6 separate regions of the Homo sapiens genome follow, and regions 2, 3, 4, 5 and 6 are each linked to region 1. Evidence: promoter capture Hi-C in human tissues and cell types (Jung and others, 2019). All regions are on one chromosome and are shown on one strand. The core of a region is centred on a gene start or on the middle of the fragment in contact, and the rest is flanking DNA. Distances in the headings are between cores, read along the strand shown.

The links. The method cuts DNA at HindIII sites, captures the fragments that hold promoters and counts their contacts. A contact is called where the count stands out against the background at its distance.
Region 2: a fragment that was not itself captured here is called in contact with the fragment with the promoter of GPC5 in region 1 in 2 of the 25 tissues and cell types used here (heart left ventricle and hippocampus).
Region 3: a fragment that was not itself captured here is called in contact with the fragment with the promoter of GPC5 in region 1 in 1 of the 25 tissues and cell types used here (lymphoblastoid cells).
Region 4: a contact is called between a fragment that was not itself captured here and the fragment with the promoter of GPC5 in region 1, in 4 of the 25 tissues and cell types used here (H1 embryonic stem cells, dorsolateral prefrontal cortex, heart right ventricle and 1 more).
Region 5: a fragment that was not itself captured here is called in contact with the fragment with the promoter of GPC5 in region 1 in 2 of the 25 tissues and cell types used here (dorsolateral prefrontal cortex and mesendoderm cells).
Region 6: a contact is called between a fragment that was not itself captured here and the fragment with the promoter of GPC5 in region 1, in 2 of the 25 tissues and cell types used here (H1 embryonic stem cells and lymphoblastoid cells).

The regions. Positions count from the first base shown.
Region 1 is chr13:91,396,362-91,401,028 of GRCh38, forward strand. GPC5 (glypican 5) reads left to right here and starts at 2,260. Exons shown (of 8, transcript NM_004466.6): 1 at 2,260-2,848. The coding sequence starts at 2,686. LOC124903189 (a long non-coding RNA gene) reads left to right here and starts at 516. Exons shown (of 2, transcript XR_007063831.1): 1 at 516-800; 2 at 985-1,227. RefSeq lists silencers at 2,074-2,368, 2,075-2,344. The HindIII fragment of the contact is 16,121 bases long and covers 1-4,667 here.
Region 2 is chr13:91,637,543-91,642,209 of GRCh38, forward strand. All of the region lies in intron 2 of GPC5 (glypican 5), which reads left to right. Among named protein-coding and RNA genes, the nearest start is that of GPC5, 240 kb to the left of the region's middle. The HindIII fragment of the contact is 5,661 bases long and covers 1-4,667 here.
Region 3 is chr13:91,151,684-91,156,350 of GRCh38, forward strand. The region is part of intron 2 of LINC00379 (long intergenic non-protein coding RNA 379); the gene reads right to left. Among named protein-coding and RNA genes, the nearest start is that of LINC00379, 58 kb to the right of the region's middle. The HindIII fragment of the contact is 6,821 bases long and covers 1-4,667 here.
Region 4 is chr13:91,587,081-91,591,747 of GRCh38, forward strand. All of the region lies in intron 2 of GPC5 (glypican 5), which reads left to right. Among named protein-coding and RNA genes, the nearest start is that of GPC5, 190 kb to the left of the region's middle. The HindIII fragment of the contact is 5,361 bases long and covers 1-4,667 here.
Region 5 is chr13:91,536,762-91,541,428 of GRCh38, forward strand. The region is part of intron 2 of GPC5 (glypican 5); the gene reads left to right. Among named protein-coding and RNA genes, the nearest start is that of GPC5, 140 kb to the left of the region's middle. The HindIII fragment of the contact is 5,406 bases long and covers 1-4,667 here.
Region 6 is chr13:91,260,703-91,265,369 of GRCh38, forward strand. The region is part of intron 2 of LOC105370314 (a long non-coding RNA gene); the gene reads left to right. Among named protein-coding and RNA genes, the nearest start is that of LINC00379, 51 kb to the left of the region's middle. The HindIII fragment of the contact is 5,291 bases long and covers 1-4,667 here.

The DNA.
Region 1 (4,667 bases), core at 1,010-3,509:
AGCTTGGTAGCTTCAGTAGCAGGCATACTGTTGCCTTGCGTGGTGGGCTTAGGGATGCTAATAGGACAAGATGCCCTTCCAGGCCACATGCTGGCTCATCCACTTTGCTAGCAGTTATGGATAAGAGGTAGAAGGAAAATATATTTATTTTTTGTTAATGGGGATATTTTATACAGACTAAATATATTCTTGTTAGTTCCTATGGCATTTCTATAAATGACCTCCCACCTGTTTTGTTAACTTATAAAATCACTGAGAAAACTTGCTTGTGTGTCTCTTTAAACTCCTGTTAAGCCTAGAATAGCGGTTAAAAAAATTGTATGTTTTCAACCAATATGTATTAGTCAATTAGCTTTTACTGAACCATCAATACTCAGTTGTGTTTATGATTTTTATCCTTGCAAGACACACCGTTTTAGAGATTCCAGTTAATGGGATAGATGGTAATTTAAGGATCTTTTTGATGCTAAGAGTCTAAGATGATCAAATCTATCAAGGAGAGATCTTGGTAACAATAAAGATGTTTTAGAAAAACTTGGGAATTTATTAGCCTTATATAGAGATACACATAATTCCAGTAGAATACAGTTATATAGATAGAAATTATGCATATTTACTAGTAAAAAATCTGCTAAATGAATAAACAGCCCTTGGTGTTGCTGCCCAAAGGCCTTTGGTGAAACCTGATGGGTTTTTCTGTACCACAGAATAGTCAAGGAGAGCCTCTGGAGAAGAGCATGCGGTCTGGATTTGGAAGCCTCAGTTTGATTTCTGGCTTTGTCACTTACCTTAGGCATTCAGTAAGTCACTTCACCTCTGTGTTCCTGTTTCCTCATCTGTAAAACAATGATAATAGTAGTAACTACTTTATAAGGTTGTTATAAAGATTACATGAGTGAATTCATTTCCATAAAATACTTAGAATATTATCTGGCCCATAAGCACTATATACATTCTCATGGTTTTTCTTGTTTCTTTTCATAGATATAGGTGGCTTCCAGACAATCTTTCCATACTTGGTGGTTAGAGCAGAAGAGATTCATGAAGAGCACTGCCCTTTGAAACAAAATCTCATATTCAGAAAACTGATGCCAAACACCAAGTAGCATGATTTCACTCTGAAGCAGTGTTTCAGCCATTGCCCTGGAATGGTTTTAAAGCAAGTGATATACTGCTGAAAGTGCTGCCTTTGATATTAAATGTTCATTAAAAATCTTCACTAAGACATAAAGTTTTTCACTACTATCTCTTGGTAAGGGTTCAAATTTGAGATGAAATTCCTTAAAGTGGTTAAAGCATTCATTGTCCCCTCTGCCTGATGCTTTTAACTAGTTTATTTTACAGAAGGAGTACTCTCTTCAAGTGGCTGTAGATTGAGACACTCTTACAGGCTTAGTTGTTGAGTCAACCACATTTAAAAAATGCACCTGCCCTTTGGTTTATGGTGCGTAATGCATTCCTCTCATAAACTGTAAATTGACAAAATTCCTTTGCCATTTTAAAATTGCTTAAAGTATTTATTTTTCTATATTCCTTGTAAGGAACTCCCCTGAGCACTCTTAACTTAATTGCTCTCTGAAAAATATTTTAAAGAAATTCCAGAAGTGGTAAAGCTCAGAGGAGCCCCACAAATACAAAGTGCTGAAGTAAAATATGATGCTAAATGGTGATAAGAGACTTAAAACTAGATTTCATTGTGATAAGAATGTGATAAAGTTTGATTGTAATTCTTATACCTCCTTTCAGAAAATCATGTTATAGAAAAATGTTCCTAAGCAGTAAAACAAAGCCATTTTAAAAAATAACTTCTCATGTGCACTCTTTAACAACCTAAGTGTTATGAAGTCTCTCAATTGAGATCTTTAACCGTAAATAGTTTTTGCCTTTTGTATTATGTCCAGATCCTATTTAATGCAATTAGAATACAAATTCCTATGTACTGAGGACCTTGATTACATAGATGAGATATTTCTTAGTTCCAGTTGGTGTTTCTCATCTCTTGTCTTCTCTGACCCTATTTATACATTCTCTGTTTTTATCAGATGATTCTTCCCCAGAACGGACTGGGAGAGCGAGGTCCGGGTTTCCTTCTATTTATTTGCATCGATGTCGCTCCGAGTCTTCAGCACTGGGCCGCGTATGACAGCATCTTAGTGGGTGCGGAGCGGGACAGCGCGCCGGGGGCGTGGCAGGGGCGTGGCCTGTCCGCGGGGCGGGGAGTGCGGGGCGGGGCTTCCGCGGAGCGCAGCGAGCGGGCACATCCCAGGTTAGCTGCTGCGAGCCGAGCCGGGCGGCGGAGGCGGCGGCGGCGGCGGCAGTGGCGGCAGTGGCGGCAGTGGCGGCAGCGGCAGCAGTTGCAGCAGTGGTGGCCAGAGCGGATGCTTGCGGGCTCCCTGCGGCTCCACTAGTTTTCTTCGCCCCGCCCAGCCGCCCACTCTTCTCGGCTAGGGAAGAAGACCAGAGGGTGCTCAGCTGGAAAACTCTGGTGTCTCAGCTTAGGGCCTCCTCCGGGAAGAGCTAACTGCTCCCAGGTGAAGCCGGTGCCCGCGGGCGGTCCGTACACCCCGCAGCCGGCTCGCACCGCTCGAGAGCCTCGGCCGCTGTGTCTTCCACGTCTGCAGCTCAGCCAGGGCGCGCAGGGCGAGTGGGGTCCACTGGCGGGTAAAGGGGACCAGGACGGCGAGGATGGACGCACAGACCTGGCCCGTGGGCTTTCGCTGCCTCCTCCTTCTGGCCCTGGTTGGGTCCGCCCGCAGCGAGGGCGTGCAGACCTGCGAAGAAGTTCGGAAACTTTTCCAGTGGCGGCTGCTGGGAGCTGTCAGGGGGCTGCCGGATTCGCCGCGGGCAGGTAAGGGGCAATGAGGGGGTCTCTGGACTGGCGGCGTCCGAGCCCGGCCTTCGCTCCCCCAGGCTCCCTTGGTGGCACTCGTGGGAAGATGACCTTTCGGGCCCTGCAGCCGCGCAGGGTGAATCCCGGGGAGGCTTCCGGGGATGCTTGGTGCGGGTAGCCTGAGTGCAGCGCAGCGCAGCTCTGGGGACCCCTAACCAAGCCTGCGACGAATCCCCGTTCTGGGCATCTGCTTCCCGCCCGGCTCCCTTCGTCTTGGAGGATGAGTTGGAAGGAACCAGGAAAGCAGACATCAGGGCGTGGGGGACACGCAGTCTAACTCCGTTTCTCTTCCGAGTAGGAATTTCCCCAGTGCCCCACCGGGGATTTCGGTTTACTGCTTTCTCATAAGGTGGAGGGAATTGAATTGATCGCCCCAAGTTTGGTACTAAAAATCACAAACCTGCGATATACCCCTTTGCTGGAGAATGGGGCACAGACAAGGGCAGCCGGTCTCCTCTGTAATTAGGACTTGGACCCTGTGCACCCAGAGACGTGACCCTTAGCTGCCCTTCTGTGCCCTCGTATCAAGCCCTGCTTGGAGGAAACCCAACCACCCAGTGTGTCTCCCAGCACCAAGGTAGTTTTTAGCCTGAAAAGTGTTAGGGCAACAGGCGATCAAACCGAACGTACTGGGGAGTCACTTGACATGGATGAGATGTACCAGCGTTCCAAAGGGAAAGATACAGTTTGTGTGGCCAGCGTGGATCTTGCTTCCTGTGAGCGCCTTTTGCCTGTGCTTTCGAACCCTGCTCCCCGTTTCCACCGCACCAATTTCCTTCTGCTGGTGGGAGTTCCAGTGTAGGTTCTGTCTGGAAGAATAGGTCATAGCTGTCAAACGCAATAGCAGGTGTCTAGAGCTAAGTAAGATCTCACTAGAGCCATGCACCCCTTTAGCTGTGACTATGAAGCCAACACAGACGAATCTGTGAGGTTACTGGTTGAACAAAGAACTTGTGGAGGACGCTTAAGTCTAAAGTCCCGAGTTTCCAGGGTTGGGGGACTTGCTTGTAGCAATGAGGAAGTGTGAGCTGTAGCCGCTTTTCTTGATTGCTTTGCTCAATTTTAAGTCATCCCAGAAAGAAAATCTAGGCATTCGGGAACACTGACTCCATTTGAGTTTACATGACCAGTCTTAAACCCAGCTATTTCTTTGTATACCTGTTTGGTACTAGGTGCTTTTTCTGTATTACTTGAAACAAAGTTGACATTCTCAGTTTAGGGCGATTCTTCTATCCCCAAATAAAATATCGCCTTATAGATCTGTATTTTTCTTAGTGCATTCTTTTCATTAGGAAATAAATCTCACTTTATTGGCTGCTGATAAAACTAAAGTGAGTTTGTGCGTGTGGGTGGTGAGGGTGTTATGATGTGAGATCTTTACCTGAATTATTAGATTTTTAGTCCCCAAATATGGTAACTTTGCCTGCTATGTTCACCGAATGTTGATGGCCAGCCCCTTCTCCCCAGTAAGGCCCTGATTTCACTCCACTCTGGTATCTCAGTATTTCTGGTATCTGCTGAATGCAACACATTGATTGGGTGTTCATCTCTTTTAAAGATGAACTTTCCAGAGTATCAGTCACTGAGACAGTGTCTTACCAGGATGTCAGGGAAAACTAAAGCTCTGTCCTAAGGAGAGGGAAATGACTGTAATTATTTGCATTTGATACACATGACACACAAAAAAGTTCCATGACGACAAGGAATCTTTCTTTTCTAAGTCACTCTGGATTGTTTCCCCATTGCTAGTAGATTTTTTAAATCTGTGGCTGAAGGT
Region 2 (4,667 bases), core at 711-3,210, 240 kb after region 1:
AGAACAAGAAGTGATAGTTGAGTTCAAGAAAAGCTATTACAGGACTGAAAATAGGGACGAACAGGAGAAACGGCTTAAAAAGAGCTGGGAAACCCTGATACAGATAAGAGGAATATTGAATCCACCTATCCAAAAGTCCCACTGCTAAGGCGAAGAGAGAAAGGAGTGGTACAAAACAGTATTGGCCATAAAAGAGAATTCAAGGGGACCTTCGGTGGGAAGCAATCTTGACCTACAAAAATGAAGTTTAACTTTGATGCCTAAATTGGATTTTGTTTTCCAAGACCATGAGAGTGAGCACAGCACTGGACTGAGATGAAGACTCTACTCATTCTTCAAGAACTCCTCTGTGAAGCGGGCTGTCAGCCATTGCTTCTCCTGTGTTCCCTCTATAAATGTGACTGCCTGATTTGTTTATACTTGATAGAAAGGAATTGTCTTATGCCTGAATAGAGGATAGCTCTATAATTGAATCAACAGGCAGAGAGAAAAAGGAAGAGCTCATGACAAAGGCAAATGTAGGAAAACAGCAAGGCCCAGAAGCAATCTCTGTTTTGCCTTTGACATAGGAGTAAAAAGCGAAGCTGAGAGAAAACAAGCACAGAAAGGGGCTGCTCACCTAGAAACCAGGTGGACAGTGGTGTACCTTCTGGCTCCTGGTATTTCGTATATCAAACCTCAAGTCTAGTCACATATACGTATAAATTATGAAGACTTTCTTGTGTTTTCTCATTTCTAAATCTTTGTATTTTTCCTTATTGATCTATTGCCAATGCCTTTTACTACTTTTCTTTGATTTACAATAGACATTTCTTTCTTTTTCTTTTTTTTTTCTTTTTTTGAGACGGAGTTTCACCATGATGCCCAGGCTGGAGTGCAACGGTGTGACCTCACCTCACTGCAAACTCTGCCTCCCCAGTTCAAGCAATTCTCCTACCCCAGCGTCCCAAGTAGCTGGAACTACAGGCATGTGCCACCATACTCGGCTAATTTTCATATTTTTAATAGAGAAGGGGTTTTACCATATTGGCCAGGCTGGTCTCGAACTCCTGACCTCAAGTGATCTGCCCGCCTCAGCCTCCCAAAGTGCTGGGATTACAGGTGTGAGCCACCATGTCCAGCTTACAATAGACATTTCCAAATATATTAGTTATTGCTTTAATGTAGAACTCTAAGTTGAGGATTGGATTCAAAAAATTTTTTAAACAAGGACACATTTTTAAAGGAAATAATATACCCCAAATGAGAAAAAGCCCGTTAGCTAACGTATTATACCTCAATGTCCTATTTTCTAAAAAATTATTTATTAGCTTTTGGGATGAATTAATCTGTATGTTAAGCTGAGATTCAGCAAAACAAAATAAGTAAATTAACTGAATTTGAACTCTTTTCTTACTTGAAAAATACAAAAAGGCAATGATGCTTAAAGAAAGTAAAGATAAATGTGAACAAAGTATGAATAGCATTTTCTACATGCTTTGCATGAGCGAGTATATGAAAAACTGCCATAAACTTTACCTTATTTTATTTTAGTGGGTAATATGTTAAATTTAGAAAAAATGTGAGTTATCTTTTCTTCTGTCCCTCTGTCTTGATTCTTCCCCAGCACAGGTGTGTGGAATATTTTAAAGTTTGTCTAAAGAAATAATTATTATAGGTAAACAGATATAAGTGTATTGAGTTGGGCAAGATGTTTTTCCAGTTCCACCTCAAATGTGAGAAAAAAATAGCAGTGTGAAGCTTTGATTATGAAGTCTGGGACATTCTTACTATAGGCAAATACTTTCAGAGTAGAGGGCCCATGAAGATTAATTTATGTTACAGAAACAAACTTTCTGATGATTCATAAACTGAATTTCTTAGTTCACTTTGTTATTTCTAAAGAAATTTGGTATGATTTGATATGTGACTACCCCCATGGTAACCAGATATAGCTTGCTCATGCATTTATCGTAATTGACGTCAAAGAAGTGATACTTCCTTGTTGCTCTAAATATCTTCCCTGGAGTCTAAGAACTTACTCTAATTGAGTCAATTGGCATCCTTCACGGATTTTTTTCTAACTTCAATTGCACTTAATCTTTCATTGTTACCCAAGAAGTCCTGCAGTAGGTAAAATAGAGTCATTCTGACGCAGTCACAGTCCTGGGCCGAAAGGGATGGTGGCCAGGCTCTCTAGCAACATATTATGCATTTATTTTCTTCATTGTGTTCCTATTCATGGAGGACATATAGTATTCAGGTGTTTTCTAAGTTCTTCACAAGCATTATTTGATTTCAATCTTGATACAACCCTGAAAAGTAGGCTTTATTGTCTTCATTTTACAAAGAAGGGAAACGAGTTTAAGAGAGATTAAATATAAAGTAAAATACAAGGCAAGGAATTAAACCTAAGTCCTTCAGATTCCAAGGCTTGGGTTTTATTCACTATGTCAAGTTGTCCCTGTGTTGCTATATTTTGGTTCTCATACTCTTTTTTTTTTCATTGTCTTTTGGGAAGAAATATAAATAATACCCATAAAAGCTAGCTTTCTGTTCTTTAAAGCAAGTCAAATGAATGGTTAATTTTTTTCTAAGTATTTATATAGAATTAACTTTATGTTTAAAATACAGAGAGATTCCGCATAGCAAAAGAAACTATCATTGGAGTGAACAGGAAACCTACAGAGTGGGAGAAAATTTTTGCTCTCTATCTATCTGATAAAGGTCTAGTATCTAGAATCTACAATGAACTTAAACAAATTTACAAGAAAAATTACCCATTAAAAAGTGGGCAAAAGACATGACAGATACTTCTCAAAAGAAGACATTCATGTGGCCAAGAAACATGATAAAAGCTCAACGTTCATGATCATTAGATAAATGCAAATCAAAATCACATTGAGATACCATCTCACGCCAGTCAGACTGGCAATTATTAAAAAGTCAAGAAACAACAGATGCTGGTGAGGTTGCAGAGAAATAGGAATACTTTCACACTGTTGGTAGGAGTGTACATTTGTTCAACCATTGTGGAAGATGGTGTGGTGATTCCTCAAAGATCTGGAACCAGAAATGCCATTTGACCCAGCAATCCCATTACTAGGTTTATACCTAAAGGAATATAAATGATTCTATTATAAAGATAGGACCTATAATCCCAGCTACTCAGGAGTCTGAGGCAGGAGAATCGCTTGAACCTGGGAGGTGGAGGTTGCAGTGAGCCAAGATCGCACCACTGCACTCCAGCCTGGGTGACAGAGCGAGACTCCTCAGGAAAAAAAAAAAAAAGATACATGCACACACGTATGTTCATTGCAGCACTATTCACAATAGCAAAGACATGAAATAAACCCAAATACCCATTAATGATAGACTGGATACAGAAAATGTGGTGCATATACACCAAGGAATACTATGCAGCCATAAAGTGGAATTAGATCATGTCCTTTGCAGGGACATGGATAGAGCTGGAAGCCATTATCCTCAGCAAACTAACACAGGAACAGAAAACCAAACACTGCGGCCGGGTGCAGTGGCTCACGCCTGTAATCCCAGCACTTTGGGAGGCCGAGGTGGACAGATCACGAGGTCAGGAGATCGAGACCATCCTGGCTAACACGGTGAAACGCAGTCTTTACTAAAAATACAAAAAAATTAGCCAGGCGTGGTGGCGGGCGCCTGTAGTCCCAGCTACTCGGGAGGCTGAGGCAGGAGAATGGCGTGAACCCAGGAGGCGGAGCTTGCAGTGAGCCAAGATAGCGCCACTGCAGTCCAGCCTGGGCAAAAGAACGAGACTCCGTCTCAAAAACAAATCAAAACAAAACAAAACAAACAAACCAAAAAAACCAAACACTGCATGTTCTCGTTTATAAGTGGGAGCTAAACAACAAGAACACATGGACACGGAGGGGAACAACACACACTGGGGCCTGTTGTGGGGTGGGGTTAGGGGAGGGAGAGCATTAGAAAAAATAGCTAATGCATTCTGGGCTTGATACCTACATGATGGGCTGACAGATGCAGCAAATCACCATGGCACACATTTACCTATGTAGCAAACCTGCACATACTGCAGATGTCCTGGAACTTAAAAATAAAATACATAAATATTCTCTTCTAAAGGTTTGCACTTCATAGGAAATTTTGTTTTGTTATAGAACATCAACACTATTCACCCAGTACATGGTATCATATTTAGTTTATCAGGAGTTACCTACAAGTTAGAGACATAAGAGGGTGAGATCTTGATTAAGAACATTGGATGCTTTTCTAAGGAGTCATCCTGGAAGCTATAGGGAACACTGAGTTCGAATTGGAGTTGGGTGGTCTAGGGGCATGGATCCCATTGAAGAGAGCTAGTTAAGAAATAATGAAGACTGAACTAAGGCTGACACAAGGATATATTGCAGAGAGTGAATACAAGAGGCTAAAGTCATGGAAACAACATGATTTCTAAATGCAAAGGAATTACATGTTTATGGCTTGATTAACTGGATTGGTGGTAAATGCCATTCACAAATGTAGGCAGTTTAACAGGAGGCCCAACTTGTATTTTGAAATAATTTAGAACCTATCTAGGAGGAGATATTTGGTAAAAAATTTAGTAATTTCAAGAGTGGTATAGGTTGAATAATTTTGAGGGTCATCAGTGTATAGATTAGACCTCTCTAAACTTCAAGGAATGC
Region 3 (4,667 bases), core at 1,514-4,013, 240 kb before region 1:
GGAGAGTAACAAGAGAATCTGTATCTATTTTTCTTCTTTGAGCTGTTTCCTTATCTACACTACCCTTTTATACAACAAAGCATGTCGAGCTTCTGATTTTATTTGAAAAATACATGATTTTTGTACTTGTAGAGCAGAAATTTCAGTGTTACAAAATCTAACAATTTTGAATCTAGGTTTGTGTCATTTGCACAATAAGGACAATGAGAAAAAAATAAAATCAATAAAACAACACTTATCTTTATGATCATCTCCAATACTTTATAAAGTCAAGATTTTTATTTTGGGGTGAGTTTATCTGATTCCATTGTTTTGTTATGCATATTATGCAGCTATTAAAACTCAGAGTTCCTCTGTTCAAGTTTGCTATTATGTTTACTAGTGTTTGAATGCTATCCCAAGCAATTCCTGAGGACTTGCTGTCCTCAGAGAATTAACTTGGAGCATAGAATTATAGCTTGTCTTCCTGTACATGCATTTTACACAGTAGGTGGCCAAGAAATATTTTTAGAATGCATTAATAACTGAATCATTAGTGACATGAGGCACTCTGATTTGGGGAGAGGCTCAGAGCATCCTGTACCTCACAATTATACTTCAGACAAAAGATATTTTCTCTGCCCTTTGTGACAACTTATGCAATTGTTGTGTTCGGGCAATGTGAGATACAGTCCTGCTACTACACATTCAGATATATGTGGGTGATTCTCATTTTTAGTGTTAATTTGAGCTTTGTAACTTTTTGATGTTTCCAGTTTATTTTTTATTATGAAGAGTACACACAGCCTTATGGAAGACAATAGCTAGTAGATATAACCAGAGCCAAATTAAACTTCTGCTGATCTATTTCAGAAAATAATGTTATCTTGGATTTCCTCTGACAGGTGGAAGACAATTATTATTCTTTGTCCATCTTTCTTGTCCCATGTTTGCAGTTGAATGTAAGACAAAGAAGGTACATATATTTATATGCAAAGAGTGCGTGACTAAACATATTCTACATAATTTAGAAATTTCTTATATTTCCAACATTTTGTTTTTCTCTAATTTCAGTCTTTCCATCTCAACAGGAAAGTGATGGCCAATTTGAAGAGTTGTAAAGATAGTATTTACAAAGCTATCTGGGAGCTAAAAGTGGAACTAATGTATGAAACCAAAAATGCTCTTACCATACAACCCAGCAATCATATACTCTTGAGCATTTATCCCAGAAAAATAGAAACATACAATCATGAAGAACCCTGTAAGTGAATGTTCACAGAAGCTGCATTCCTAGAAAACAGACCAAGGCGGAGAATAGACATGGGAACAGAGAGTCAGGGGCAAATGGAGAAACCTGTCTATTTCTGCCATATGCAAATACTTTCTTCTTGCATTTCTCAGGCAAAATTTTTCTTTTAATAGTAGTATTTATTTTTCTGAAATTTTCACATTTTTTCAGTTGTCTATGTAGGCTTCTGCCTAATTGGTCCTAGGATAAGTATTATTCTATTTGTTGTAAAGATGTATTGTAGTTTTTGATCAGTAAACAAACACTATGTAAACTGGATATATTTTATTTCTTAAATTTAATTAAAAGCATAGTACTGTGGTAAGTCCTGCTAGAGATACACTTAGCAATAGAGAGAGGGAGATTTCCCTTACCTCAAAGTTATTCTTAGTCCTGTGCAGGAGACAGAAATGCTTACAAAAAGACACCAAGTGCATGGTACAAAGTGAAAGGAAGGGAGTGCTGTGTCTTTAACCAGATGTAAAATTCCAGGTTGAAATATTGACCTGATGATGCATGTAGCTTTAAAATTCCATCAGAGTTGAGCAAATGTTGGAAGGGGATGGTGAAATGAGAGATGTGATACTTCTGAATCTCATCCCAGGAATGTAGTTAATGGAGTCCTGAGATGGCTTTGCATTTCTGAGGCAAATTAGGTTTTCTTCCACTTTCCATCATCTTCCTTCAGCAATGCAAGATGGTATTTTTGCAGTCACCTATTTCCCTCTTGCTTTCTCATGTTGCAACTATCTGGACTACATCAATCTTTCAGCCTTAATTCCTGACCAAATCTTCTACTCTTTCCCTGCCATATCACAGCAATTGAAGAGAAACAAACTTAAAATTTGAGTATTGTTTTTAACAAAGTAGAAAAGATTATGTATATCATCTATCAATTTTGAAATGCCGGCCACATAGGACATCAATGTGACATGAAAGCACACTTTTTCATCTAAATTACATTTTTTTGTACAGAAGGAAAGATCCAACTGAGATTGTTCTGAATAAAATAAATATACTATAATCAACTTTGCAGTATTTCCATCTGTGAAAATGAAAATAGATCTGCATAGCCTTTGAAATATTTATTTGGTTTTTTTCTTCAAAACTGTTTTTTCCTTGCATTTGATTGCCACCAGCAAATATAAAAAGTGATAACTTTTTCTAAAGTCTGGAACTAAACAATTCTTATTAAGTAGCAAGAATCTCAGTCATTGTTCTTTGTATTCACTCTGCACAACGACTTTTAATTTGCCTCGCTGTTATGTTAAAATAAAAGAAAAAAATCTGACTTATAAGTGGCATAATTTGCTCAGCTTTACAAAAATTGTTTCATTTAAATAATTTACAAAACAAAGATGTCCAAAACAGTTCAGATTGTACTAATCTTCAAAACAGATTTGCATTGAAATCTAATCTTAAAAAAAATCCTATCTAAACAGTACATATATTTTGAGTCTATTCGTCTTTAACAAAAGACAGTGAATTTTTTATCACCTTATCTCCAAAGAACACCACCACTACTCTGCATTATAAAAGCATGTTTATCTTGAATGTTTGTATATATTTCATCGCATTTTATCCTAACTCAGTGGTAGTAGAAATCTGTCTTGCAGATGAAGAATTAAGACAAATGATTTTGTCTGAAGTGACATCTGTACAAGGAGCTATGCACGAACCTAAAACCCAAACATCTAGCCCAGCTCTCTCACAGTGGCCACACTGCTGAAGTAGCCAACATACCACGTGCAGTAGAGGGTTGAAAGCTTTTGTCTCCCTTCTGTAATTCCAGCAGCTGCTAGTCACTGCTGTTCTGAGCATGGTTGCTTCGGGGATGCTTTACAATTAGAAACTGAGGAAGTAACTAGAAAGGGGTGTGGCTTATTTATTTTCTGGAGAAGGAGGAAATGGAGATGATTCCTCCTATTGGTATGCTAAATTTTTCACTACCAGAAGTCAAACTTTTTATTACAAAATGACAATTTTCTAAAGGAAATGAATAGCTCTTTTCATTCTGCATATTGACAAAAACTCGTGGGGAAAAAAAGATAACTCAGAGTAGTGTTAGTGTGCTTCAGATACTGGATACGTTAGGACAAAGATACAGAGAAGAGAAACGCAAGTGAGAGACAGAAAGCCAGTGGCCAATGAGGAGGCCCCAGGGATGGGCTTAAAGAAAATGGGGAACTTACAAAGATTTGCCACAAAGGCTAGAAAATACTTACAGATGAAGTCATTGCAGAAGTCTGCAAGCCCTCTGAAACCCAACAGAAGCAGCAGCAAGAAGGGTAAGGCTGAGGCAAGACCTGTTTGTTATTAACTTAGAAATGAGGAAGAATAGGGAGATTTATGTCTACTACCAAAGAGCAGTATCTGCAAACTTGTCCACTAAAATGTTTAATGAATCCTTCTGTAACAGTCCATTGTGCTCGATTGTTCCGTTTTTGTTACAAATCCCAAAGAAGTAACCTCAATCTGCTATCCTTTGAGAAACTGCTGATTCTTGGTGGCCTCTGAAATGAAGAAGCCACAGACATATTTCAAGGAAGGGAAGCAGAAAGTAACATCAATTCCAGTGTTTTTAGAACTGAATGACTTTGGGGATAGCTTGGTTGCAAACTCCAGGCTCCTTTATCTCTTTAGTCTCAAACTAGGAAGAAAAACCTGTTCTCCCTGACTGCATTCCTTTTCAGAAATTTCCCTGTGTCATACCCAGATGGTGCCCTTTGAACTTAAAAGCTAAAGAACTTTGTTCCCCACCGTAAATCGTCCCCACGGCCATGTTGCTTTTCCATTTAGCCGCCAAGCTGGGAGAATTGGCAGTTCTACCGGACAATTAGCACTTTGAAATATTATACCACCACATATGTAACAGGTTAGCACAGTGCCTGGACCCAGAGAGCACTCTGCAAATGTTAGTGCTTCCTTTCCTGTGGGCATGGGAGTAAGCAAGATCTACTTACCCTCCTACCACTGACACACAGGAAAAGGAAAGTAGGAAAGTTGGTGTTTGGTGTCCTAAAAAGGAATAGATACAAAAGTAAAAATATATATTAAAAAAAGATGTTACTGGACCCTTATTTTAAAACTTACTTTTAGATGTATAGATCATTAAGCAAAACCTGAAAAAATCAGAGAGAAAAATAAACAACAAGAAATGAAATATTAATATTGAAATGCCTGAGGGCAATCGCCTTTATCTCTGGTTGGTAAAACAACCCCCAATGTAAAAGCTCACAGTCCACGGCATTACAGAAAAACCAAAGACCTAAAAGTGGACTGTCTCTATTAATAATTAGTGATGGTTTTAAGTTTTTTTTCCTAGCACTTCAGTACAACCCAAAATGTTATCACCTAGAAGAAAGAAGCAATAGCAGGCCTGTTATTTATACAATCT
Region 4 (4,667 bases), core at 1,386-3,885, 190 kb after region 1:
TCTAGTAATGTCTAGTTATTGGTAACTCCATTGTTTTGCAAACAACTCAAACTTCTTTGATTTTTCTGGGTGGTATACTTATGCGTTAATAACGAAGTTTTGGAAATTTATGTTTTAGGCTATTTATAGTGTTATTTTAAGATGAAATGAGTTATTTACAGATAGAACTTGCTTTAAAGTCATTTGATATACAGAGTATAAGTATACAACTAAATCGAAGATTACTGTTTTTTAAATGTCTCTTTGCAAACAGTAGTTTCCTAGTATCTGACAAATGATCTAAGCATGACCTTTTCAAGTCTATATTTATGCATAAAATAAGGCATATTTGTATTGTTGTCCTCATATAAAAATCTTTTTTAACTAAAATAAGCAATGTGTCAGTCAGTTTGGCTAGGGAACTGTTTTTTCATTTAACCTTCAAATCAGCCTTCCTTGCCTCCCTACCTCTTACTTCCTACATTTTGACATTCATTCAGCAAATATTTTAGAGGGACTTCTTCCTTATCTTTCTCTTTTATGAAACATTTTACAGGTTTCTGTAGTACACACTGATGGTTCTTGTCTTAATCATATTACATTTATGTTTTGAAATATCATTTTATTATGTTTTACTCTTTAGCTGTTTTACGAATTCTCTTCTTCTAATGAGATCATAAATTCCTGAAAGCAGGAACTGCCTTTTCTTATTCTCCCACATATCAAAGAACAGAATGTACTCAAGACACCCTCATGAAAGAGAGTTTTATGGTTGAAGACTTAAGCTTGTGTGAATGAAGTCTAACACTTTTGAGAGATCATTGTTTATCAAATGTCTCCTGCATTGTATATTATGCTTGCTCTATGCTATTAAAGTAATGAGATTTCTGACTCAGTACTCATAATGTGGAACCTTGCAGTAAGAAATGATGAACAGCTTCAAATCACCTTTAATGTTAGCTTCACATTGAAACCACTGCAAATCATCTATGCTACCTTATACAAATTGAGTGTATTTGAAAGGCTAAATTGAGCAGTGGAAACTAACAGCACTGGTGTACTCTTCTTTTGGCTGGGAGTTGGAGAGGCGTCTTTTCATCTACAGGTGATTTGCATTTTCAGAGACTGGCTAATGCTCATAAAACATTAGAAATCTATACATACAGCTATGGTAAATATTCTTAGGCCTCAAATTTGTACCCTATGACCTTTAGAATTTACTTCCCACTTTGCAGTCATATGCTACCTGGCTACATGTAGGAATTTCAGATTGTTCCAAAGAGCATACCAATTAAGAACAAGTTTCTGCTGTCACACTGCCAAATATTGACTAAGTGGCTTTGGGAGAGTTCCTTAATTTCTCTGAGCCTCATTTTGCATTGCTGAGTAGAGGGAATGATAGTGCCACTTTTATGAGAGAGTTGGAGGATTAGAGGAGATAATCCTAAACAATTTTTCCCCCTCTACAGGTGATGTATTCTCCTCATATCACACAGAAAATAAAATAGGTGAGAACTTTCTAACTTAAAAATTATACCCTCAAATTTAAATTGATTTCATACATCTTCACCTATCCTTTCTTCCTGCCATTCATCTCTAAACAAGAGGGACCTCTTTTCCTTTGCAAAGTCAGTGCTAGACTTGTGCTCTTGATCTCTCTTTCTTCTTTACCTTTATAACCTTCTTGTGTTGTTTATCCCTTGTGTCATTGCATTTTCAGTTTCTTTCATTCTTTTGGCTCTGGCACTTTCTTTCCAGCCTATAAAATTGTTTGTAGGCTAAAAATTTGACCTGGCAGCCATTGGAGCTGCTGTGTCATTGTCTTCTTCCCTTTTTACCAAACTTAAAATAATTTCTGCATACTGTATGGATTTTACCAACTTTCCCTTTAGTTAATATAGTCACTGAATAATCCAAACTTATTACAAAAAATTAGGGGTGGAAAATTTTCTCCCATTATCTCTTCAACTCACCAATCTGACTTCTACATCCACTTTATTGAAATGACTTTGCCAAAGATCACCAATAAAGCTTTAGTTTCCAACTGCCTAATTTTTGTGCAGTATTTGATGTCTTTGACCGTCTCTTCCTACCCTTGATAGCTCCTCACTGACTTTCTCTTTCAAACTGTTTTTTTATGATAACACTTTTCTAATCCTCCTGCCTTTTAAAAAACTACCTTTGACTCTCATTCCTCTTCTTTAATTTTAAGTATTGTATATTTCTTGGGTTTCCTCCTTTGCCTTTCCCCACTTCCTTTTCTTCCGTACTTTTTTTCTGACTTTCTCTCTCTCTCTCCCCACCACCTGTTTCTAGATCATCTATCTGCAACTACAAACTCAGGAGGAAACAGGCTACTGTGTTCAGTAAGCATCTCAAAGTGAGCCTGTCCAAGACAGCTTCTCTGTTTCCTCTCTAGACCTGACCATCACCCTCTCTCTCTGGACCATTGCAATGATCTCTAAATGACTCTCACTACTTCAGGTGGTGAGAAGGGATAGGAAGGAGAGATCTATAAACACAGAACTAAGAATTCCTTTATCATTCCCCCAATGAGCAAAAAGTTACTGGTTAGTACTGATTGACAAAGGGTACAATTTTCAGTCCTTCACTCAAAAAGTCAACTTCATCATCTTAGATTTACTCAAGTTTGTGAGTTGCCTTATGAGGATCTGAGTGTCTGGGTGGCCATGTGGCTAGAAATATTCTATTAGATCCTTATTTAATTTGAATATGTGTATAAATAATGCGTGATTAGACTCAAAGATGTAGGGATTCAAACTATATCTTCTATGAATTTCTATATCTCTTCCTTGCTAAATTTTTAACTATGGGTATCTTCTATGGAGAAATTATATTAAATACTCTTCAGTCCTATAGTGTGTAACCTTGGAGTTTGATAATTCAGGTGTACTACATTAAAATTTAAAACTTTCTTTAAAAAGTATTATGTAAATGCTTTTGAATTTCTAGAATTTATATATCTTATTAATTTCAATATTTTGTTTTATAAATATATATATGACCTTTCATATCTCAAACTGCTATTTATTTGCGTTATAGGCATACTTAGAAAATAAGAAAAAGTTCTTTATTTTTATTTTTATTGAGAGGAAAAATTCTTTATTTGATAACATGGATTATCAAATTACCCTATCAAATAAATATAAAATACCAAGTAATATTTCTAATATATTTAAAAGGAATATTTGATTAAGCTTGCCATTTTTGATTATTACGGCTTATTTCATAAATATTTAATGACTCATAAGATCTTCAAATTATTCCCCTCAATAACATTCGATTTTCTTCACCTATTTGTTAATAATTTAGCAATCCAACTGGAAAACATGAACATATATGGCATAATATGTTTTCCTATATTTTCTCTTAATAAACTAATGCCATGCCTGTATATGTTTGTTTATGTTCCAGCTATAAGAATTTAATGTGTTTCTTTGAGATCCCTTTACCCAGAAATAAATTATCTTACCCTTGGTAATATATTAGTAAATTTAATAGTCCTCTGAAGTAAAATAAAAATTAAGCAAATTTACTACAAAAATAATCTTGTTTGCTCAAGAACATTGAATGTATGAATTTCCACACATTGAGTCACCACTGCTTTTCCCAGGGGCTTAATTTTACATGTTTCATTTTGTCCTCTTAGAACTTACTACTTCTTTCCCTTTTTACTCATTCCCTCTTTTTCTTCTCCCTCCAAGTCCTTGTATTAATCACTGGTATGCCATCCTTTATTGTCTTATAAACTATTTAAATAAATGGACAAATTAATTTATATGATTGAACCTCTCCTTAAAGTGAGACATAGAACTAAGGGCTATAATTGTGAACTCTGTAGCCAGACTGCTTGGGATCAAATTGTCTCTGTTCCTTCCTAGTTACGTGACTGTGCCTTTGTTTTCTCATCTGTAGTATGGGAATAATAATATTACCTCACAAGGTTGTAAGGAGCATTGTATTGTTGATGTTTGTAAAGCTCCTAAGACAGTGACAGGCATTTGTAAAGCTCCTAAGACAGTGATAGGCACCTCATAAGTGTTTGTTAAAGACACATGTTCTTTCGGTCAACCTTCTATTCTTCTATTGCATCTAAGTAGAAAAATAGCTCCTTCCTCCTTGAGAACAAATCTTCCACCAGAAATTGGGTTATAAGTGCTACTCACCTCCTCAGGGACCTTCTTGCTTTCATAAATTATCTCTTCCAATTCTGCTGAGAGGTCTGCTGCTGGCCTGATGGGGTTCCATCTATATCTGACTTGACCTTTCTTTCCAGCTACCGTTAGGACTTTTTCTTTTGTGTTGACCTTCGTGAATCTGATGACTATGTGCCTTGGGAGTGGTCATCTTGTGTAGTTTCTAGCCGGGGTTCTTGGTATTTTTTGAGTTTTCATGTCAACCTCTCTCATGCAATTAGGGGAATTTTCACAAACTGTATCCTCAAAGATATTTTCCAAGTTGCTTATTCTGTCTCCTTTCTCAGAAATACAAATATGTCATAGATTTGGTCTCTTTTTATAATCCCATGTGTCTTGGAAGTTTTGTTCATTTTTTAAAATTCCTTTTTTCTGTATTTTTGTCTGAGTGTTGATTCAAATAACTCATTTTTCAAGCTCTGAGATTCCTTCCTCAGCTTAGTCTATTTGCTGTTAATACTTTTGATTGTA
Region 5 (4,667 bases), core at 1,310-3,809, 140 kb after region 1:
CCCAGAACTATGAAACAATAAATTGTGGCACAGCTCACTTTGTGGTAATTTGTTACAGAAGACTTAGCAAACTAATATGAAAATCATATGCTCTCTGATCACAACATACTGAAATTAGACATCAATAACACGGGACAGTTTGGGACAATCATATGTCCATGTAAAATAATAAAGACACTACTAAATAATGAACGAATCAAAGAAATCACAAGGGAATTTAGAAAATATTTTGCGAAGAATAAAAGTGAAAATACAATGTACCAAAACTTATTGGATACAGTGAAAACAGTACTCAGTGGCTAATTTATAGCTATAAATGCCTACATTATGAAAGAAAAAAAGGTTTCAGATCAATAATCTAACCTCCCACCTTAAGAAAAACAAGAGCAAACTAAACCCAAAATGTACAGAAGAAAAGACGTAATAAATGATTTTAAAGGAAACGAGTTAAACAGAGAATAGAAAAAGAATAAAATCAACAAAATCAAAAGTTCTATGAGAATATTAACAACACTGATAAAACTTTTAGATAGACTGAACAAGAAAAAAAAGAAAGCTCAAATGATTAAAATCAGGAGTGAAAGAAAGGACTTAACTACTGACTTCACAGAAATAAGAAGCATTATAAGGGAATGAAAAATTAGAAATCAACAGATTACATAAGTGGGTGAAACAAACAACTCCTACAAAGATGCAAGCTACCAAAATTTAGTGAAGTGTAAAATCCGAATAGACCTAGAACAAGTAAAGAGATTGTATTGGTAAGCAAAAAAAGTCCCATAAAGAAAAGTGTTCAACTAGATGGCTTTCATGATGAATGCTTCCAAACATTAAACATGAATTCCTACTATGTTACACAAATTCTTCCCAAAATGAAAGGATGATGGAACACTTCCAAAACATTTGGTGAGGCCAATATTACCCTGATACACAAACCAGACAAACCCATTAAAAGAAATGAAAACTACTGACCGATATCTCTTAGTAAATATAGATGCAAAAATCTTCAACAAAATTCTAGAAAACTGAATTTACAGGACATGAAAATATACAACATTACCAAGTGGAATTTATTGCAGGAATGCAAGCTTGATCTATCAGTTCAACTCGTAGATACATACACAGGAGAATTGAAAACGTATATTTACACACAAACTTCTACACAGATGTTCATAATAGCATTATTTACAATAGCCCCAAGGTGGAAACAACTCAAATGGTCATCAGCTGATGAACTGACAAATAAAATGTGGTTTATGCATACAATGAAATATTCAGTTATAAACAGAAATGAAATACTGGGGTACATGCTACAAAACAGGTGAAATCTAATAAATTCTTCATTAAAGTATGAGCTGCATTTGTCCATAGATTAGAGGTATGACTTTTGGATATTCTAATTTGAAAAAGAGCCCACTTCATTCTATCTAACCAGCAGTGGATGCTTGATGCTGGATATCACAGTTGAGCAAGGAGCTGTACATTTTTGGATATTTGGAAGTCTAAGTATGACTTCCAGGTTTTGATCCAGGGATAGGAGACTTTTATCCCAATTGCATAGGGAGGAGTTCTAACAACATTCCATCCATATTGCAAAACATGTAGTTGTAACCTTTTTGAATAAAGGAATAACTTAAGAAAAAGTATTGAAAACATCAAAATATCGTAAAACTGCGTACTATTTTTATGATATAATGGGGCAAACTACCTGAGCCTCTCCAGGTACATGTAATATTTTTTAGATGATTTTTTATTTTACTATTGCTAAAAGCCATACCAAATAGATGTTAATCTCCAGAACATTGATTCATTGCAAATAATTTTTTTTTTTTTTTTTTTGAGATGGCGTCTTGCTCTGTCCCCCAGGCTGGAGTGCAGCGGCATGATCTTGGCTCATTGCAAGCTCCGCCTCCCGGATTCACGCCCTTCTCTTGCCTCAGCCTCCTGAGTAGCTGGGACTACAGGTGCCCGCCACGACGCTGGGCTGATTTTTTGTATTTTTAGTAGAGACCGGGTTTCACCATGTTAGCCAGGATGGTCTCGATCTCCTGACCTCATGGTCCACCCCGCCCCCCCCTCAGCCTCCCAAAGTGCTGGGATTACAGGTGTGAGCCACCGTGCCCAGCCCCATTGCAAATAATTTTTGTCCTGTAGAGTTGTAATTTATTTTTGTCTGGTTGGAAACAACAAACCCAAGTATCCCTGAAAGATATTAATCATTAAAAATACTAACATTAAGATAGTATTCCAGCTTTCTTTCTGTCACTGTGTATAATGCTAGTCTCTTGCATTTTTTATTTCAAGAAGGTTTATTGTGTTGCTTGTTTCCTAATTACATAACTAAACAGAATTTTCACAACTGCTCATTACATATTAGTTTTAGGGACCTATGCTTCATCTTTTTGAAAATTATGCTTTGACATAACATGTTGAAAAGCTTTTTTTTAAAAGCGTTAAAACAATTAGTTCTTGTAATAGGTGGATTTGTGTGTGGGGGGCAGTGATAGAAACTCACATTCACTTAAATCCCTTTAAAAAGTGAGTGGGGAAATTATTGGATCACATGATCACAAGTGCAGAAACTGAAGGTCTGACTTGATCTAGTTCGTCATATGTTATCAGGAATCTTTTCTACCTCTCAATGAAACTTTAGTCTCTGTGGGTTTCTTTCCCAGGCAGGCTGCCTCCAAGTGGGAGCAAAGTACCTCAGTAGCTGTAGGCCTAAAATCTGCCAGGTTAGCAACATTAACAACAAAAAGATCTTATTTCCCATCAATTAAAATCTCCTGTCTGCTCTATGAAGCATCTACTGAAACTCTCACTGGCTGTTTTTGGGTCACCTTCCTACCCTAGAGCCACATGTGGGGTCAGCTGAGCTAATGTGTCAGCTGAGAGTGAAGAAGGTGGGCCTAGAGGATAAATATAGGGCAGTGACAAAAAGAAAAAAGCAAAGCCCCTGAGAAATGAGGATGTATACTTTATAATAATAAAAGATACAATCCATAATGCATATCTAATTGTTCAGTATGTGTCAAATAGCAACAATATATATGTTTAGATACAACATCATGGAAATACAAATTTAAAAATAAAAATAAAAACATAATAGGAAAAAAAAAACCTGACAAGTTGGTGAACTTTTGTATAATGCCATCAGCATAATGGGGACGTGTTTGCTTTAAAATCGGAAATAAGACATTCCTTTCATGTATTACATGCTCCAAGTTAATGTTTAACATAGAGGCACTAATAAAGCAACAAAAATTTTAAAATGTATGTCTTGCTGGGAAATAATTACATCAGGCTGTATAACAGAAACCAAGATTATTCTTTGTCCCTTGTTCAACAGTACTAGGACTAAGCAAAAGCAACTTAAGTGCATATTCCAGGAAATACTTGCTCCTGGAAGAAAGACTGTGAAACAGCTAGTTTACTTATCAAAACTAACAGCTGGCCCTTCCAGACTCTCTTCAGGGTCCTCTTCCTGCTAGATTCACCAATCCAAATAAACTCTGCCCACTCACAACACTTCTCTGCCTTGTAAGACCTGCCTCAAGATCACTCTGGCCAGGCCTTAGAATTCTATAAATATCTTTCCTTTACAGGCCACATACTGTATGATTCTATTTATGTAAATTTTATACAAGAGGCACATTTTTAGTGGGAAAATACCTTAATTTTTGAATAGGCCCAGTGGGGCTGGAGAGAAATGAAGAGTGACTGCTAACCGATACAGGGTGTTTTTTGGGGGTGATGAGAATGATCTGAAGTTGATTGTGGTGATGGTTACAACACTGCAGACATTAAAAGCCTTTGGATTGCACAATTGAAATGGGTGAATTGTATGGCATGTGAATTATACTTCAATAAAGCAGTTACATATCTAAGAAATGCAGTGTAAATAGATGGACTTGGAAGGTTGAGCAAAAGTCATGTACATTTGGAAAATTTCTTCTTGTCATTTGTTTAGTTAACTGCTGTTTTTGTTTGGCTGTTCCATTTTTGGAACTAGATTCCCTGTGATCATGATCCTAAGTACAGGAAAGAAATATGTGGCCCAGATGACAGCTGATTACATGTACTTACTTTACATCCTCCAGAGTCCATGATAAGGATAAAGACATACAGAAAAAAAAAACAGTGGCCACAACATTATACATTGTTGATTAAAAGTCTAATTGAGTCAGAATGTACAGTAACTGCATTTTTGGTGAACGATGAGTGAAGGTTCACATTATTATGTATTTTAAAATGGTGAATTCCATTTTATATGAATTATATCTCAAAAAATGTTAAAATTACCTAATTTTTGTGTTTAAATGCCTACAATTAAATCAGTGTTAAGTCATAAGCAATTTGAATAACATTCTAATGCTCATTCACATGATTAAAATTTTATCTACTATTATAGAAATTGAGTTTTTAAGTGACTACATTTAAATATTTTAATATTTTTGCTACATATTTTTTGTTCTTAAAGTCTCTATGTAATTTGTCCATTTCTTTTCTACTGTGTGCAGTTAATTTACTGTTTAGATGGTAAGAAAATTAAAATTTGGTTAATTTCTTTGGTCAATACTTTCCCCTAGTTATTTTCTGTCTACTATTCTTGAATAATTCCTCTCTTCTGCACGGACTTGCAGTGCCTCCTTTATTATAAACTGCAT
Region 6 (4,667 bases), core at 930-3,429, 140 kb before region 1:
TACTGAATTCATGTGAGATTACTGACTATGCACATGTAATCCCACATCATGGTAAAGCCAGACAAGCTTCCTTAACAGTAAAATAATGAAAGTAACAACTCTTTCACCGAGATATTGAGAGGATTAAATGAGACAATATACATAAAATACTTAAGAGTGTGCCTGTCACATAGTAGTCACTTAATAAATTATAGTTATCATTAATTTAGTTCAGCACATAATTTTTCTTACAAATAAATATTAATGATAACAACAAGGTATTACCCTTCAAGTTTGAAGGAAGGGTCAAAGATCTGCTCCTGCTCCGAAACATGCACAAGGCTATTTTCATAAGGGGAATGATACCATCAGGGTTATGTTTTAGAAGGATGAACTGATACAGCCTCTGTTTGCCTCTCCAAATCCACTCTATGTCTTTTCCACCCTGCTTTGTGCCCGGGAAGGCTGACCTTTGTGGACTCCATCAACTGGTCTCCCTGGCTTCCAGTTTTGGTTTGTCCAATGAAGGACAATGGCAGGAGACTGAAGAGTGAGAGGAAGGTGAAGTCAGTGTTTGTTCCCCATTTCCCTCCAGGCAATGGTTCAGCAATGGCTGTGCTGAACCATGGTCTCTATCAAAGCCTACAGCTCTTGTCACCTGGCCTCCTATAGCTAGAACTTTCTCTTTTCTACTTGTGGTAGGTGCTTGGTACCCTGCCCTCAGGTAACTGCTTCCCTTCGTTGCATGAAGATTGATTGTAAAAGAAGACTGGAAGTAGAGAGAATGGTTACAAAGTACTTGTAGGTAGGAAATAATTAAGAGCTGACCAAAGTAGTGGATGATGAATCAGAGAAAACAAGACAGAAATAAGATACATTTCGAAAATATCTAATATAGGAGAGAAAAGCAACTATAACTAATTGGGTGAAAGAGCAAGGGATAAAATAAGTCTAAGAGGATGTCCACGTATTTTACTTCAGCAAATGAATAAAGACTGATACCATTCGCAGAGACAGCAAAGTAACATCATCTGATTTGCTCCCCCAACAACTCCTGGTTTCTATTATCACACTTTTCAAAATTGATCATTTGCTTCTTTGAGATACCTTTTGTATTTATCCAGTATTTGCTGGACAGCATAATTATATGAGATTTATCTGCATTGAGGCATGTATTCCTTTTTAGTGCTGAGTAGTATTTTATTGTGTAAACCACAGTTGTTTATACATTCACTGGTTGATGGACATTGGAGTTGTTTCCTGGCTTTCACTGTTACAAATAAGACTACTATGAACACTAATGCACAAGTCATTGAGGCTTGCATTTTTCTTACAGAAATATCTAGAATTTAAATGGCTTGGTTATATACAGGTATATCTATAACTGTTTAAGAAATTGCCAAAATGGTTTTCCAAAGTGGTTTCACCATTTTACATCCCATAAGCAATGTGTAAGGTTTACAGTTTCTCCATCTTTTTACCAACACTTGATAAGGTCATTCCTTTTAATTTTAGGTATTGTAATGGGTTTGCAGAAATAGTACATTGTATATTTATGTTGTATTTTCCTAACGAATAATGATGTTGAGCATCTAGTTATGTGCTTATCTGTTCATGTCATTTGCCCACTTTTTCATGGGATCGCGTTTTTTCTTGTTGAGTTGTTTGAGTTTCTTGTCAACCTTGGATATAAGTCCTTTGTTCAATGCACAGTTTGAAAATATTTTCTCCCATTCTGTAGGTTGTCTGTTTACTCTGTTGATTATCTCTTTTGCTCTGCAGAAGCCTTTTAGTTTAGTTCACTCCCACTTATCTATTTTTGGTTTTGTTGCATTTGCTTTTGAGGTCTTAGTCTTAAATTTTTTGCTTAGTCCAATGTCTTAAGAGTTTTTCTTAGGATTTCTTTCAGGGTTTTTGTATTTTCATGTCTTACATTTAAGGCTTTAATCCATCTTGAGTTAATTTTTGTATATGGTGAGAAATATGGATCCAGTTTTTTTTCTTCCGCATATGCCAATTTTCACCGGGTGTCCTTTCCCCATTGTGTTTTTTTTTTTTTTTTTTGGCTTTATCAAAGATCATTTTATTGTAGGTTCTCTATTTTGTTCCACTTATCTATATGTCTACTTTTGTGTCAGTGCTATGCTGTTTTGGTTACAATAGTCTTGTAGCATAATTTGAAATCAGGTAATGTGATGCCTCCACCTTTGTTATTTTTGCTTAGGATTGTTTGGACTATCTGGGCTCTTTTTTGGTTCCATACGAATTTTAGGATTATTTTTTCTAATTCTGTGGCAAGTGATATTGGTAATTAGATAGGAATTGCACTGAGTCTTACATTGCTTTAGAATATGTGACCATTTTAATGACATTGATTCTTTCAATCCATGAGCATGAGATGTTTTTCCATTTGTGTTATCTACTATTTCTTTTATTGGTGTTCTGTAATTCTCCTTGTAGAGATCTTTTACCTCTTTGGTTAGCTGTACTCCAAAGTATTTTATTTAATTTTTTGTGGTTACTATAAATGAGACTGAGTTCTTGATTTGCTTCTGAGATTGAACGTTATTGATGTGTAGAAATGCTACTGATTTTTGTACATTAAGTTTGTAACCTGAAACTTGACTGAAGTCATTTATCAAGTCTAGGAGTCATTTGGAGGGGTGTTTAGTGTTTTCCAGGTATAAGATCATGTCATCAGTGAACAGAGATAATTTGACTTCCTCTTTTCCAATTTGGATGTTTTTTGTTTGGTTTTTGTTTTTGTTTTTGTTTTATTTCTTTCCCTTGCCTGGTTGCTCTGGTTAGGATTTCCAGTACGATGTTGAATATTATTTGAATCTTCTCTCTTTTTTCTTGGTTAGTAGAGCTAGCAGTCTATTGATTTTCTTTATCTTTTCAAAGAAACAACTTTTTATTTCATTGATCCTTTGTATTTTTTTGTCTCAATCTCAGTCCTGCTCCGATCTTTTTTATTTCTTTTCTTCTTTGTCTAGCTCCTTGAAGTATGACATTAGGTTGTTAACTTAATTTTTTTCTATCTTTTTTATGTAGATATTTTGCTATAAACTTTCCTCTTAGCACTGTTTTTGCTATATCTTAGAGGTTTTGCTATGTTGTGTCTCTATTTTTATTCGTTTCAAAAATTTTTTTGATTTCTGCTTTAATTTCATCATTTACCTGAAGATCATTCAGGAGCAAGTTGTTTGGTCTCCAAGTGTTTCTATAGCTTTCAGAGTTTCTGGTGGTATTGATTTCTAATTTTATTCCACTGTAGTCTGAAAAGATATGCAACGTGATTTCAGGTTTTTAAAAAACTTATTGAGATTTTCTTTATGGCCAAGCATATGGTTTATTTTCAAGAATGTTCCATGCCCAGATGAGAAAAATGTTTACTCTACAATTGTTTTGTGGAATATTCTGTAAATGTCTATTAGGTCCTTTTGGTCTGGCAACCAGTTTAAGTCCAGAGTTTCTTTGTGGATTTTCTGCCTTAGTGATCTGCCTAGTGCTCTCAGTGGTGTTTTGAAGACTTCAGTATTATTGAACTGCTCTCTGTCTCTTTACTTAGGTCTAGGAGGATTTGTTTCATGAAGCTGGGTGGACTGCTGTTGGGTACATATAAATTTATAATGGTTATATCTTCATGTTGAATTGAACCCTTTAACATTATATAATAATCTTATCTTTTTAACTTTCATTGATTTAAGGTCTGTTCAATGTGATATAAGTATAGCTACTCCTGCTTGTTTTTGTCTTATGTTTGTCTGGTATATCTTTTTCACCCCTTTATTTTGAGTCTGTGTGTGTATTTATCTGTTAGGTGGGTCTCTTGTCGGCAGCAAATGGTTGAATCTTGTTGTGTTTTGTTCTATCCAATTTTCCAGTCTATACCTATTAACTGGAGCATTTAGGCCATTTACGTTCAAGGCTAATATTGATATGTGAGGTTTTGTTCCTGTCATAATGTTGTTACCTAGTTGCTTTGTAATCTTGATTGTGTAATTTCTTTGTAGGGTGTGACCTTTGTACTTATGTGTGCTTTTATAATCCTGAGTACATCCTTTCCCTTCATTTTTATGTTTAGAATTCATTTGAGCATTTCTTGGAGAGCCAGTGTACTGGTAATAAATTCCATTAGCATTTGCTTATCTGAGAAAGATTTCATTTCTCCCTCATTGATGAAGCTTAGTTTAGCAGGATATGAAATTCTTGGCTGGCATTGTTTTCTTCAAAGAGGCTGACAATAGGACCCCAGTCCTTTCTGGCTTTTAAGGTTTCTGCTGAGAAGTCAACTGTTAGTCTAATGGGATTTCCTTTATAGGTGCTTTGATGCTTCTCTCCAGCTGCTTTTAGGATGTATTCCTTCATGTCAATTTTGGATAGCCTCACGAACATATGCTTTGATGAGCCTTGTCTTGCAGAGATTATTCCAAATGTTCTTTGAAGTTCCCGTATCTGGATATCTAATTATTTATCTAGAACTGGGAAGTTTTCTTGATCATTTTGTCAAATACATCTTCCAAATTTTCTATTTTTTACTTCTTCTCCCTAGGAATGCTTATAAGTTATAGTTTTGGTCACTTTACATAATCCCATATTTCTTGAAGGCTTTTTCATTTTTAAAATTCATTTCTCTTTATTTTTGTCTGACGGGGTTAATTCAAATAATGGGTCTTCAAACTCTA